4 separate regions of the Homo sapiens genome follow, and all the other regions are linked to region 1. The links are contacts of gene promoters, found by promoter capture Hi-C in blood cells and fetal thymus (Javierre and others, 2016). All regions are on one chromosome and are shown on one strand. The core of a region is centred on a gene start or on the middle of the fragment in contact, and the rest is flanking DNA. Distances in the headings are between cores, read along the strand shown. Region 1 holds the start of CEP135 (centrosomal protein 135). Region 2 holds the start of SRD5A3 (steroid 5 alpha-reductase 3). Region 3 has its middle 13 kb from the start of SPINK2. Region 4 overlaps REST (RE1 silencing transcription factor).

Region 1 (2,978 bases), core at 47-2,546:
AATCCTCCTGCTCCACCCATTGGTCTTTCTGGTCCTCTGCTTTCCCGCAACAATGGGAGTCTTCAAGCGGCCAGTGCCTTTTTCGTTCTTAACTGCCCAATCCGTGCCAGCAGAAGGCAGCTTTAAACCAAAGTGAAAGAGCTGAAGCAAAAAAGAAAGAAAATAAAAAGTCCCAGTTCTTCTGGGCTTACCTCCTGGCTGGCTCACCAAAATATGTTACCAGATTGGAAGTTGGGAGTTCCAGGTTCTTGGTGTTATGAACAAAGAATTGGATGAGACACACAAATAACCACCCCACAAGATTTATTAAGCAAAGAATATACCAGAGAGAGGAACGGGCTTATCTTCAAGTGGTGTCAGCCCTGGATTAATATAGCCTTTGTTCTTTTATACCCACTTCCTACACTTCTTTAACTCTAGGGAGGGGATTTCCTATAATTGTCATATCTGTTTTCTTGTTTTTTCTCTCTTAGTGCGCCTGCGTGAGCTTGCCATAATTTTAAGTGTATGTATGATAGGCATTCCATAGGTATGAGCTGGTCAGTCTTCTGACTTCCTTCCCTATTCTGCTGCCTCAGAAGGCCTATTTGGGAGAAAAGTAAACAGGAAAGAATGAAACTCCCTCTGACTGTCTGGGAAATTTTCAGGGGAGAAATGGAATTCTAGGATTTTACTATGTGTTTTCCATCTGTGAGTGGACTATAACGGTTTATTTCAATTTAATTCCACTCACAAATGTTTTGCTGAGTAGAATAGTCTCTGACTCAAGGAATTCACATTTGGGGGCGGCAGAGAGAGACGGATCAACAAATGATTGTATTTTGATGGATGAATTCTATGGTTCTACAGAGAGCCTGCGGGAGATACTATTGTGGGATAATTAATTGCATTGGGTGGTTGTCAGGGAAAGTTGCAGAGACAACGTGATATCTGCGTTTGGGGATTACGTGGTGAGCAGGCGTTCACCTTGCAGGTGAAGGCTACTCCGCTGCAGGGACCGGTACTGGGGCGGCGTTTGTTCCCCGCACGCAGTAGGTGATCCACACCTCCCGCCGACAGGAGGAAGAGGATGCCAGCTCAGGCACCAGCTGAGGTTTGGCATTTGCTGGCCGCGGGCGCCGACCTCCAGGGGGCGCCGTGGCCTCGCGCTGTCCGGGCCGTTGCATTTCCGGGCACTGGGGCTCCGCCATCGTCGCCAAGCGCGTCCCCGCCGCGAGCCGCTAATCGTCCGCCGCTCCCGTTACCGGGGCAACCGCGGCGCCTCCTCCGTGTCGGCCCCGATCGTCCCTCCGCGCCATTTTCAAACTGCTCTAGCGCCGGAGCCCGTGCCTGGACGGAAGGAGCTAGTGGGGGACTCGAGGCCTGAGGGCAATGCGGCTGGAGGCGGAGGCAACGGCGGCTGGAGCTGCCGGTGAGTCCGGATGTGGGAGCCAGAGGGCCAGCTGCGGCGGTGGTGGCGCCTTCGCCTTCTGGGCGGTACCCGCGGGCCGGGCTCGGGCACTGCCGGGAGGCCGCGCGGCCGCGGGAGGAAGTGAGGCCAGGCCGGGTCAGACCGGGCGGGGAGGGGCGCGGGGACTCTTCCCACCCACCCCGCTCCCACACCCCCTTCCCGTCAACACCCGACGGTAAAGTTGCAAACCGGAGATTGGGTGGAGGAGAGCTTGGGCCGACTCGTCAAGGAGCGTCTGTGTGGGCCGTGCAGACAGGCTTGCTGTTGACCAATGGATAGATTTAAACATTAAAATGCCTTCTCAGTGTAGCAGTCATCCATGCTCTTTGTAACAAAAATGTCGCAAAGCGTAGGACGACAGCCTTTAATTAACCTTTGCCCAGCTCCTTTGAAGCCTCTCCACTGCTTTCCAGCCTTTACTACTTTGAGTTCAATAAGAAAGGACTCTGAGATAACCACAGCTAACGGGTTTCTTTGTTGTCGTTTGGGGTTTCTTGTTTATCTTCTTAAGCCCTGTGCACACATACATACAGCATTAAATGTACTGGTTTTGAGACGCCAACCCCCAGAGTTAAGTAGATGGATACTTCTACACATATATGTATGGGGGACCCCCAAACCTAACCTTTTATGTTGCTTTGCTAGAAACTTAGAGTATAGCCACCATATTTGGATGGGGGTTATGGGGAAAGACAACAGTTCATGGGTGGGGACGGCCTAACATGTTTCTATCTGGGAGGATTTTAATCCGTCCTGTGTATTGAGGCCCTGGCCATGATTTATTGATTCATATTCATTCTCATTCTCTCCCCTCCAAAGCAGGATGTGAGGAGGTATTATCTCTGGGTAACTGGAGTTGGTAGCAAAGAGGGGAAATGTTTTGAGTGGTGCACCGCCTGTAAGTTTACACCCTGCTAGTAATACACCTGGATTTGTCAGGTGTATTTCTGATGTCTGCAGGAATTTCCCTAAAAACCCTGCATCACTTAGGTGTCTCTTGTGGAAAGAACCTAGGAAATCTATGAGGAAGCCATTCAAAAAAAGTTAACAAGAGCAAAGAGAAAGATATACAGAAAGGAGTGACCAAGGAGAGACTCAGGAGACCTGGTCTCTGATGACTGCCCACCTACTTTGTGGCCCCGTGGTTTTGGAAGAGTTACTTTCTTGAGGCAGCCTTTCCTCATGTTTAAGTAGGGATAATATCATTGGTCTTTCTCCCTCACAGGGTAGCTGTGAGGATCGACTTTTACATGTATGCTCATGCATGTAATGCATTTTTTATATATTGTGAAGAACAACAGATGTAAAACAAAATTTTTATTTGGCTTAGAAATACGAGTACCATGACTACAGTTAGTTAGCAAAGGTTAGAAAAGAGCAGAGTTTCTAAAGAAATGATCTTTGGGCTGAGCATATTGGCTCACACCTGTAAACCTAGCACTTTGGGAGGTAGAGGTGGGAGAATACCTTGAGCTCAGGAGTTGGAGACCAGCCTGGGCCACATAGCAAGACCCTGTCTCTAAAAAAG
Region 2 (3,076 bases), core at 179-2,678, 600 kb before region 1:
AACACAGTGAAACCCCATCTCCACTAAAAATACAAAAAAAAAAAAAAAAAAAAAGCCAGGCGTGGTTGGGGGGGCACCTGTAGTCCCAGCTATTCGGGAGGCTGAGGTAGGAGAATGGTGTGAACCTGGGAGGCAGAGCTTGCAGTGAGCAGAGATCAGGCCACTGCACTCCAGCCTGGGCGACAAAGCGAGACTCCATCTCAAAAAAAAAAAAAAGAAAAGAAAGAAACAGTGAAAGGGTGACTCCCGCAAAAGAGATCCAGGATCACTCAATAAGGCCTCATTGTCCTAGCTAGAATGCCAATTTAACCATCCTTAATCACCTGGCTGTCAAAGGACGGGTAAAGCCTTAGGTGTCTTTTGCACAAAGAAGAAAACTTTAAAAGCTTGCTCATTTAACAGTCCAAAGTCCCACTAACCTACCCACCCTGATGTTTATTCAACACACATATCGGGTATCTCATTGGGGTAAGGGTGATGAGTTGGCTACCTCTCCCCTCTTCCACTTCTCACCCACCACCCAATCTCAAAAATGTAAGCTCCAAATAAGCAGTGACAATTATCTTGTAAACCCCTCTGTCCTCAGTATCCAAAATGATGCCTGTCATACAGTAGGCATACAATACTTCAGAATTAACATTTTAAAGACTTTTAAATACTTAAAAGAGCTAGATTTTCACTTATAGTAAATAAAATCAGTGTTGTTTAAAATCAGTGAGTCAATAAATAGCATTGTCACTACCTGAGATAAATGTTACAGGAAACAGCTGATGGAATTTAAAAACTTTGCTTCTAAGGATTGGAACCCTATTGGTAAGCGACTGCTGTTTTTTAAACACAGTTTTTACCACTATGATTTTTATTATTATGTGCAATTACTTGTCTACATGTTTACATTATACACATATCCAACACATTTCCAGCATCCTAACATAATTATTCATTTTTGGGTGTGATCTGCCTTCTTTATCCATATATACACACATTCATATTAATATAGTTGTTTGCAATCATAGCTATGTATTTTTATGGTTGGTTTTGTTTTTCACTTCACATATTGTTTCCTAAACAGCTTTCCCTGTTTCTACACTCGTCATAATAATTCTCAATGACTGCATGATATTCTAACATGTCAGTGTATCATAATTTAGCTAAATAAACTAAAATGCAACATGTAAGGTTTCCATTTTTTGCTTTGGAGATAATGTTGATAAGAGTGGCAGACACGTGGTCTCGTCTGTTTTGCGTCTTTGCTTCTGATGAATCATATTCTGGAGCTCCATCTAAGAATCCCCATGCCCAGATTAGGGACTGCGAGCGACCACCCAGCGCCAGCGCGACCAGGACCAAGGACCTCCGCGGCTGAGCGGCGAGTCCGGGAGGGGCTCTGCGCGTCCCCGCCCCGCGCCGCGTCACCGACGTCCCGCTAGGCTGAGACCGGTGCGCCGCGCGCTAGTGGCCGCTCTTCCGCGGGCTAGCGGGCGGTGGGGGCGCCAGCAGCGCGGAAGGCGGGCACGCGGGCCATGGCTCCCTGGGCGGAGGCCGAGCACTCGGCGCTGAACCCGCTGCGCGCGGTGTGGCTCACGCTGACCGCCGCCTTCCTGCTGACCCTACTGCTGCAGCTCCTGCCGCCCGGCCTGCTCCCGGGCTGCGCGATCTTCCAGGACCTGATCCGCTATGGGAAAACCAAGTGTGGGGAGCCGTCGCGCCCCGCCGCCTGCCGAGCCTTTGATGTCCCCAAGAGGTAACCGCGCCCCGGTCCCGAGCCGCGGTGGTCAAGGCGCTGAGAGTTCGGGGCGCCCCGGCTCGCGGGCAGCCAGCAGGGGGCAGCAGAGGCGGGACCCGGCCTGGGAGGCCCTGGCGGGTTCCCGGGCGCAGCACGGCGCTCCCTCGGCCTGGCCCCGGCCATGCCCCGGCTGCTGCGTGGCTCCGGGGAGCAGTGCCCGGGTGTCCGCGGACGCCGAGGGAGAGCGGAGCCGCTTGCACTCAGCTGGAGGAATGTGAACTGGTAGCCGCACGGAGCCTTTCCCTGTGGGAAATGGCAACGCATCCGAATTTAGGCCTGGTCATGCGAATTTAGGCGGCAAATTGAAGTGCCCCTTGCCCCAAATTCTCCTTTTTCCCGTACCCTGCACTCCAGTGGCTCATACTCTAACTTGAGGTCACCGGGAATCATTTGTGGAAATGAAGTTAGGCCGGCTCTTCGGCCTCGGCTTCCCCCGTTTCTCTTCCCAACCCTTGCAGTGGGGACAAAGGACTGAGTCGCCCTAACCTGCACCTTGGCAGGTGCCCCTGGGGAAGGTGGCCCAAGGTGCAGGTCATAGGCAGGCCCGTCCCGAAGCTCCATTTGACTTTCGAAAAATTCTGTAACCCAGTTCAGCGAAGGATTAAATCGTCAGGTTTTAAATAGAGACCTGTTATAATTTTCTTCTTCTCCTTTTTCCACTTTAAATTCAGGACATAGCTGGAAAGAGTTGGCCAAATACTATTCGAGATGGTAGAAATAGAACAGTGCCCCTTAAGATGCATCTTAGGCCGGGCGCAGTGGCTCACGCCTGTAATCCCAGCACTTTAGGAGGCTGAGGCAGGCGGATCGCTTGAGTTCAGGAGTTCGAGACCAGGCTGGGAAATATAGTGAGACTCCGTCTCTCCTGAAAATACAAAAAATTGGCAGGGCTTGGTGGCGTGTGCCTGTAGTGCCAGCTACTTGGAATGAAGGCAGGAAGATCATCTGAGATCAGGCATTGGAGACTGCAGTGGGCTATAATCATGGCACTGCACTCTAGCCTGGGCAACAGAGAAATACCTTGTATTTAAAAAAAATTTTTTTTTAAAGGTTAAAAACATCTGGGTTGTCGCTTGAAACACTCATAGGCAGTGCCCCAGGTCCGCAGGCAACAAAGGGACAAGTATAATTTGGCTTCTAAAACTTGGATAATCTGCGAATTTTGACTGTCAGAGAAAGATGTGTCATGTGTTAACACAGAGAAGGGAGAACTAGGTCATTCTGAGGCACCCTAAAGGGAAGAAGTAGAAGTACATGAAACAAATTGATCAAACCTCCTGTTTCCTAGAG
Region 3 (2,859 bases), core at 77-2,576, 890 kb after region 1:
ATAATTCAAAATATTCTGAGCATACAGATTCTCTTTTCCTTCTTTAACATCATCATGATTTAAATGAACCTGAGTAATTAATGCTGATCTAGTAAATCGTAGTGGCCTTAAGTCTAAGTATTGAGAATAGGTAATTTTAGCCGGGTGCGGTGGCTCAGGCCTGTAATCCCAGCACTTTGGGAGGCCGTAGGCAGTTAGGATCACCTGAGGTCAGAAGTTTGAGACCAGCCTGACTAACATGGAGAAATCCCATCTCTACTAAAAAAAAAATACAAAATTAGCCGGGCGTGGTGGCGCATGCCTGTAATCCCAGCTACTCAGGAGGCTAAGGCGGGAGAATTGCTTGAACCTGGGAGGAGGCAGAGATTGCAATGAGCTGAGATCTGGCCATTATTGCACTCCAGCATGGGCAACAAGAGCGAAACTCCTTCTCAAAAAAAAAAAAAAAAAAAAAAAAAAAGAATAGGTAATTTTATTATATTCTACAATGAAGGGCAATTTAAACATAATGTAATTTAATGTTTAGACATTTGTGAAACTTTCAACTAAAAGATTCCCAAGTTTCTATGAGAAAAATTAAAACAACTTTTGTCAGAGTAGGCAGTAGGCATCCCAATTATTTTACAAAATATGCTCACCATAAACAAAACAATTATATGACTTAGAATTACATGTTAATATAACCGTTCTTGCCCTGCTTTCTACAAGGTATTGTGAAATTATGTGTTCTGGGTATTTTTGACTTGTATGTGCTTCTGATTAGCTGGAAAACAGCTAGGAAAATACAGTGGTCAAAACATAGAATTTGGCTGGGTGTTCTAATCCCAGCACTTTGGGAGGCGGAGATGGGAGGATCGCTTGAGGCCAGGATTTGAGACTAACCTGGGCAACATTGTGAGAGTCCCATCTCTACAAAAAATTAAAAGACAAGCCTAATTCAATATGGTTTTCCTTACCATTCAGCTCTGTGATGTAGATAGAAACTTTACCCCTGAAGCTAACATAATTCAAATTCAATTGTGGATCAAGTTGGCAACCCAACATGTATGCTCCATATTGCCTCTGGCACCAAGTTTAAACATTTAAGAAAAATTATCCGGCCAGGCGCAGTGGCTCAAGCCTGTAATCCCAGCACTTAGGGAGGTCAACGTGGGTGGATCATGAGGTCAGGAGATCGAGACTATTCTGGCTAACACAGTGAAACCCCATCTCTACTAAAAATACAAAAAAATTAGCCGGGCGTGGTGGTGGGCACCTGTAGTCCCAGCTACTCGGGAGGCTGAGGCAGGAGAATTGCTTGAAACCACCGGAAGGCAGAAGTTGCAGTGAGCCAAGATCACGTTACTGCACTCCAGCCTGGGTGACAGAGACAGACTCCATCTCAAAAAAAAAAAAAAGAAAAATTATCCTAATGTGTCCTCCAAATATGTCCTTTTTTTTTTTTTTTGAGACAGAGTTTCGCTCTTGTTGCACAGGCTGGAGTGCAGTGACATGATCTTGGCTCACTGCAACCTCCGCCTTCCGGTGGTTTCAAGCAATTCTCCTGCCTCAGCCTCCTGAGTAGCTGGAACTACAGGCACATACCACCACGCCCAGCTAATTTTTTGTATTTTTATTAGAGATAGGGTTTCACCATGTTGGTCAGGATGGTCTCGATCTCTCGACCTTGTGATCCGCTCGCCTCGGCCTCCCAAAGTGCTGGAATTACAGGCGTGAGCCACCGCGCCCGGCCCAAATATGTCCTTTCAAAGTCATACTAGAGTACTGTCTAAAAGGCCGGCATGGAAGTTGTCTGATTGTAGAGGAAGTCATTTCATTTCATTTATTTACCATTGATAGGGTCCGGAGTCTGTAAAGTTAGATGTTAGCTTATGGAAAATAAGTGGCAAATGATTTTGTTGGGTAGAAAAGATATCTCCAGGCCAGGTGCGGTGTCTCACGCCTGTAATCCCAGCACTTTGGTAGGCCGAGGCGGGTAGATCACTTGAGGTGGATCACTTCAGGAGTTTGAGACCAGCCTGGCCAGCAGGGTGAAACCCAGTCTCTACTAAAAATACAAAAATTAGCCAGGCTTGGTGGCACATGCCTGTAATCCCAGCTACTGGGGAGACTGAGGCAGGAGAATTGCTTGAATCCAGGAGGTGGAGATTGCAGTGAGCCAAGAGCGCGCCATTGCACTCCAGCATGAACGAAGAAGCGAGACTCTTGTTTAAAAAAAGAAAGAAAGAAAAGATATCTCCAAAGGTTGCCATTTCATTGCTCTGTGAATATTAAGCAGTGTTATATTTCATATTGCAGTCTTATCCCAGCATTCTTTTTCCCACTGACTATATATTTACCAGTCTCCCCTATCTTTCTTCTTTTGCCGGTTCCCTGATGATTAGTTAAATAAGAAGGGTAAATAAGAGGCTAGCTTGCCTAGCAGATAGAGAAAGGGGTATTTCTGACTTGGGAAGATCAGCATGTGCAAAGGCGAGCGTGACTCCTTTAGAGAATTCCAAGAGACTCCATGTGGCTAAAGCAGTTCTTCTCAAACTTTGATGTCCATATGAATCACTCAGATTCAGTGAGTCTAGGGCGAGGCCCAGAATTCCACCTGTCTACAAGCTCCCAGGTTAAGCTGCTGCTGCTTGTCTTTGGACCATACTTTGAGTAAAAAGGGGGTAGGGTTAAAGCACTTCCAAAGATGTGCACATCCAAAAATGAAGATGGGGCCAGGCACATTAGCTCATGCCTGTAATCCCAGCACTTTGAGAGGCCGAGGCGGGCAGATCACTTGAGTCCAGGAGTTTGAGACCAGCCTGGCCAATATAGTGAAATCCTGTTTCTACTAAAAATACAAAAAGTTAACCAGGCATA
Region 4 (2,838 bases), core at 129-2,628, 960 kb after region 1:
GCTCTGTTGTCGAGGCTGGAGTGCAGTGGCATGGTCTTGGCTCACTGCAACCTCTGTCTCCCAGGTTCAAGCAGTTCTCCTGCCTCAGCCTCCTGAGTGGCTGGGACTATAGGTGCCCACCACCACACCCAGCTGATTTTGTATTTTTAGTAGAGATGGGGTTTCACCATGTTGCCCAGGCTGGTCTTGAACTCCTGACCTCGTGATCCGCCCACCTCAGCCTCCCAGAATGCTGGGATTACAGGCGTGAGTGCCACCCCTGGCTAATTTTTGTATTTTTAGTAGAGATGGGGTTTTGCCATATTGGCCAGGCTGGTCTCAAACTCCTGACCTCAGGTGATCTACCCACTTTGGCCTCCTAAATTGCTGGGATTATAGGGGTGGGCTACCGCACCCAGCCGAAACTTTTTTTTTTTTTTTAATTTCTTTTTGTGGAGATGGGGGGTCTCACTATGTTGCCCAGGCTGGTCTTGAACACCTGGCCTCAAGTGATCCTCCTGCCACAGTCTTCCCAAGTGTTGGGATTATAGGCGTGAGCCACTGTGCATACTAGTCATTCACTTTTAAATTGGGTTTTATTCAGCTGCTGTTCACTGTAGTTTTTTTAATTGGATTTATTTATTCATTTATTGATTTATTTGAGATGGAGTCTCACCCTGGAGCCCAGGCAGTGGTGTGATCACAGCTCACCACAGCCTCTACCTCCTGGGTTCAGGCAGTCCTCCCATCTCAACCTCCAAAGTAACTGGGACTACAGATGTGCCCTACCACACCCTAATTTTTTAAAATTTAAATTGGGTTTTAAATATTGTAATTGAGGGGCCTCATTTTTCAAATAAATGTTTTTAACTATTGGTAGCTCATTTGGACATTTCTGTTACATTTTCTTGGTAAGAATTGGTACATTTGGGTCCTGATGAATGGATAGAGAATAATCCAGTACTCTACTCTTGGGGTCACAAATGAATAGGGGGTGTGGGATGCTGTTTGCCTCAGGTCTCCTCTTACAGGAGTTGGCACTTGACAGGACTGAACCCCACTGGTAAAGGGGACACTGAGGAGGGGAATTGATGCTGCTTTAAGTGGAGTGGTAGACTTAATTTTTGTTTTGTTTTGTTTTGGAGATAGGATCTCCCTCTGTGCCCCAGGCTGGAGTGCAGTGACGCGATCTCGGCTCACTACAACCTCCACCTCCCAGGTTCAAGCGATTCTCATGCCTCAGCCTCCCCAGTAGCTGGGATTATAGGTGCCCACCACCATGGCTAGCTAATTTTTTGTTTTTTTAGTAGAGATGGGGTTTCACTATGTTGGCCAGGCTAGTCTCGAACTCCTGACCTCGTGATCTGCCTCGGCCTCCCAAAGTGCTGGGATTACAGGCGTGAGCCACCGCGCCTGGCCAGTTTTTTTTTTGAGATAGTTTTACTTTGTCACCCATCCTGGAGTGCAGTGGCGAGATCACTGCTCACTGCAGCCTTGACCTCCTGGACTTGTGACCCTCTCGCCTCAGTCCCCCAGGTAGCTGGGACCACAGACGCATGCCACCACACCTGGCTGATATTTGTATGGTAGAGACAGGGTTTCGCCATGTTGCCCAGATTGGTCTGTAACTCCTGAGCTCAAGTAATCTGCCCTTAGCCTCCCAAAGTGCTGGGATTATGGGTGTGAGCCACCGTATCCAGCGACTTAATTTTTAAAAATTTATTTTATTTACTTATTTTTTATATCCCAGATACTTAAAACTATTAACTGGCAGGCTTAAACAATAAAACTTGCAGGTGAAATTCCATTACAAGAGTGACCTCTGTTACAGGATTGCTAAGCCCCAGCAGATGGATGGCTCATGTGTTGAATGCTTTAAAATTTAGTCCAGTAAAAGAATTTGTAGTCCCTTTGGAATTTGTCATAAGCTGTGATTGATTGTCTCGATGCTTTGAAACCATTCGATTTCAGAAGTAAAGGTCAAGCATTACAAAAATACATAAAGTAGGAAATGAAAGTTACTTGGGGACACAACCCCATTAATCACTTGACAGTTTGAATTAGACAGACTGTTAGACTAAACCAGCCTTACCTACAATATCTTAAATCCCAGCCATCATATATACTAAACTCATAAATAAGTACACCATATTCATTTAGCTGGGATTACAGGTGCCTTCCACCATGCCCGGCTAATTTTTGTATTTTCAGTAGAGATGTGGTTTCACCGTGTTGGCCAGGCTAGTCTTGAACTCCTGACCTCAGGTCGTCTGCCCACCTCAGCCTCCTGAAGTGCTGGGATTACAGGCCTGAGCCACCAAGCCTGGCCTGGTTTATTTGGTCTTAATGCTTATTTTTCCCCAGTATTACCTTCATTCTGATTTTTTTTTTTTTTAACTTTTTTTTTTTTTTTTTTTTTGAGACAGTTTTACTCTTGTCGCCCAGGGTGGAGTGCAATGGTGCAATCTCGGCTCACTGCAACCTCCGCCTCCCAGGTACAAGCAATTATCCTGCCTCAGCCTCCTGAGTAGCTGGGATTCCAGGCATGCGCCACCACACCTGCTAATTTTGTATTTTTAGTAGAGACAAGGTTTCTCCATGTTGGGCAGGCTGGTCTCGAACTCCCGGCCTCAAGTGATCCACCCGCCGCGGCCTCCCAAAGATTACAGGCGTGAGCCACCACGCCTGGCCAATTTTGTGTGTGTGTGTGTGTGTATTTTTTTTTTTTTTTTTTTTTTTGAGATGGAGTCTTGCTCTGTTGCTCAGGCTGGAGTGCAATGGCGTGATCTCTGTTCACTGCAACCTCTGCCTCCAGGGCTTAAGTGATTCTCCTGCCTCAGCCTCCCGAGGAGCTGGGAT

The links. The method cuts DNA at HindIII sites, captures the fragments that hold promoters and counts their contacts. A CHiCAGO score of 5 or more calls a contact.
Region 2: the fragment with the promoter of SRD5A3 here is called in contact with the fragment with the promoter of CEP135 in region 1 in 8 of 17 cell types (naive CD8 T cells, activated CD4 T cells, total B cells and 5 more); the score reaches 10.4 in naive CD8 T cells.
Region 3: a contact is called between a fragment that was not itself captured here and the fragment with the promoter of CEP135 in region 1, in 5 of 17 cell types (total CD8 T cells, total B cells, erythroblasts and 2 more). The highest score is 6.4, in total CD8 T cells.
Region 4: a fragment that was not itself captured here is called in contact with the fragment with the promoter of CEP135 in region 1 in 2 of 17 cell types (total B cells and activated CD4 T cells); the score reaches 9.4 in total B cells.

What each region holds. Positions count from the first base shown.
Region 1 is chr4:55,947,649-55,950,626 of GRCh38, forward strand. CEP135 (centrosomal protein 135) reads left to right here and starts at 1,297. Exons shown (of 26, transcript NM_025009.5): 1 at 1,297-1,411. EXOC1-AS1 (EXOC1 antisense RNA 1) reads right to left here and starts at 364. Exons shown (of 5, transcript XR_941069.4): 1 at 192-364. RefSeq lists enhancers at 106-255, 874-1,838 and silencers at 1,053-1,192, 1,243-1,702. The HindIII fragment of the contact is 6,740 bases long and covers 1-2,978 here.
Region 2 is chr4:55,344,814-55,347,889 of GRCh38, forward strand. SRD5A3 (steroid 5 alpha-reductase 3) reads left to right here and starts at 1,429. Exons shown (of 5, transcript NM_024592.5): 1 at 1,429-1,744. The coding sequence starts at 1,524. RefSeq lists an enhancer at 1,150-1,910 and silencers at 1,362-1,531, 1,742-2,011. The HindIII fragment of the contact is 3,550 bases long and covers 385-3,076 here.
Region 3 is chr4:56,833,551-56,836,409 of GRCh38, forward strand. No RefSeq gene overlaps it. Among named protein-coding and RNA genes, the nearest start is that of SPINK2, 13 kb to the left of the region's middle. The HindIII fragment of the contact is 4,006 bases long and covers 1-2,859 here.
Region 4 is chr4:56,912,546-56,915,383 of GRCh38, forward strand. The region is part of intron 2 of REST (RE1 silencing transcription factor); the gene reads left to right. Among named protein-coding and RNA genes, the nearest start is that of REST, 6.1 kb to the left of the region's middle. RefSeq lists an enhancer at 2,223-2,723. The HindIII fragment of the contact is 4,758 bases long and covers 1-2,838 here.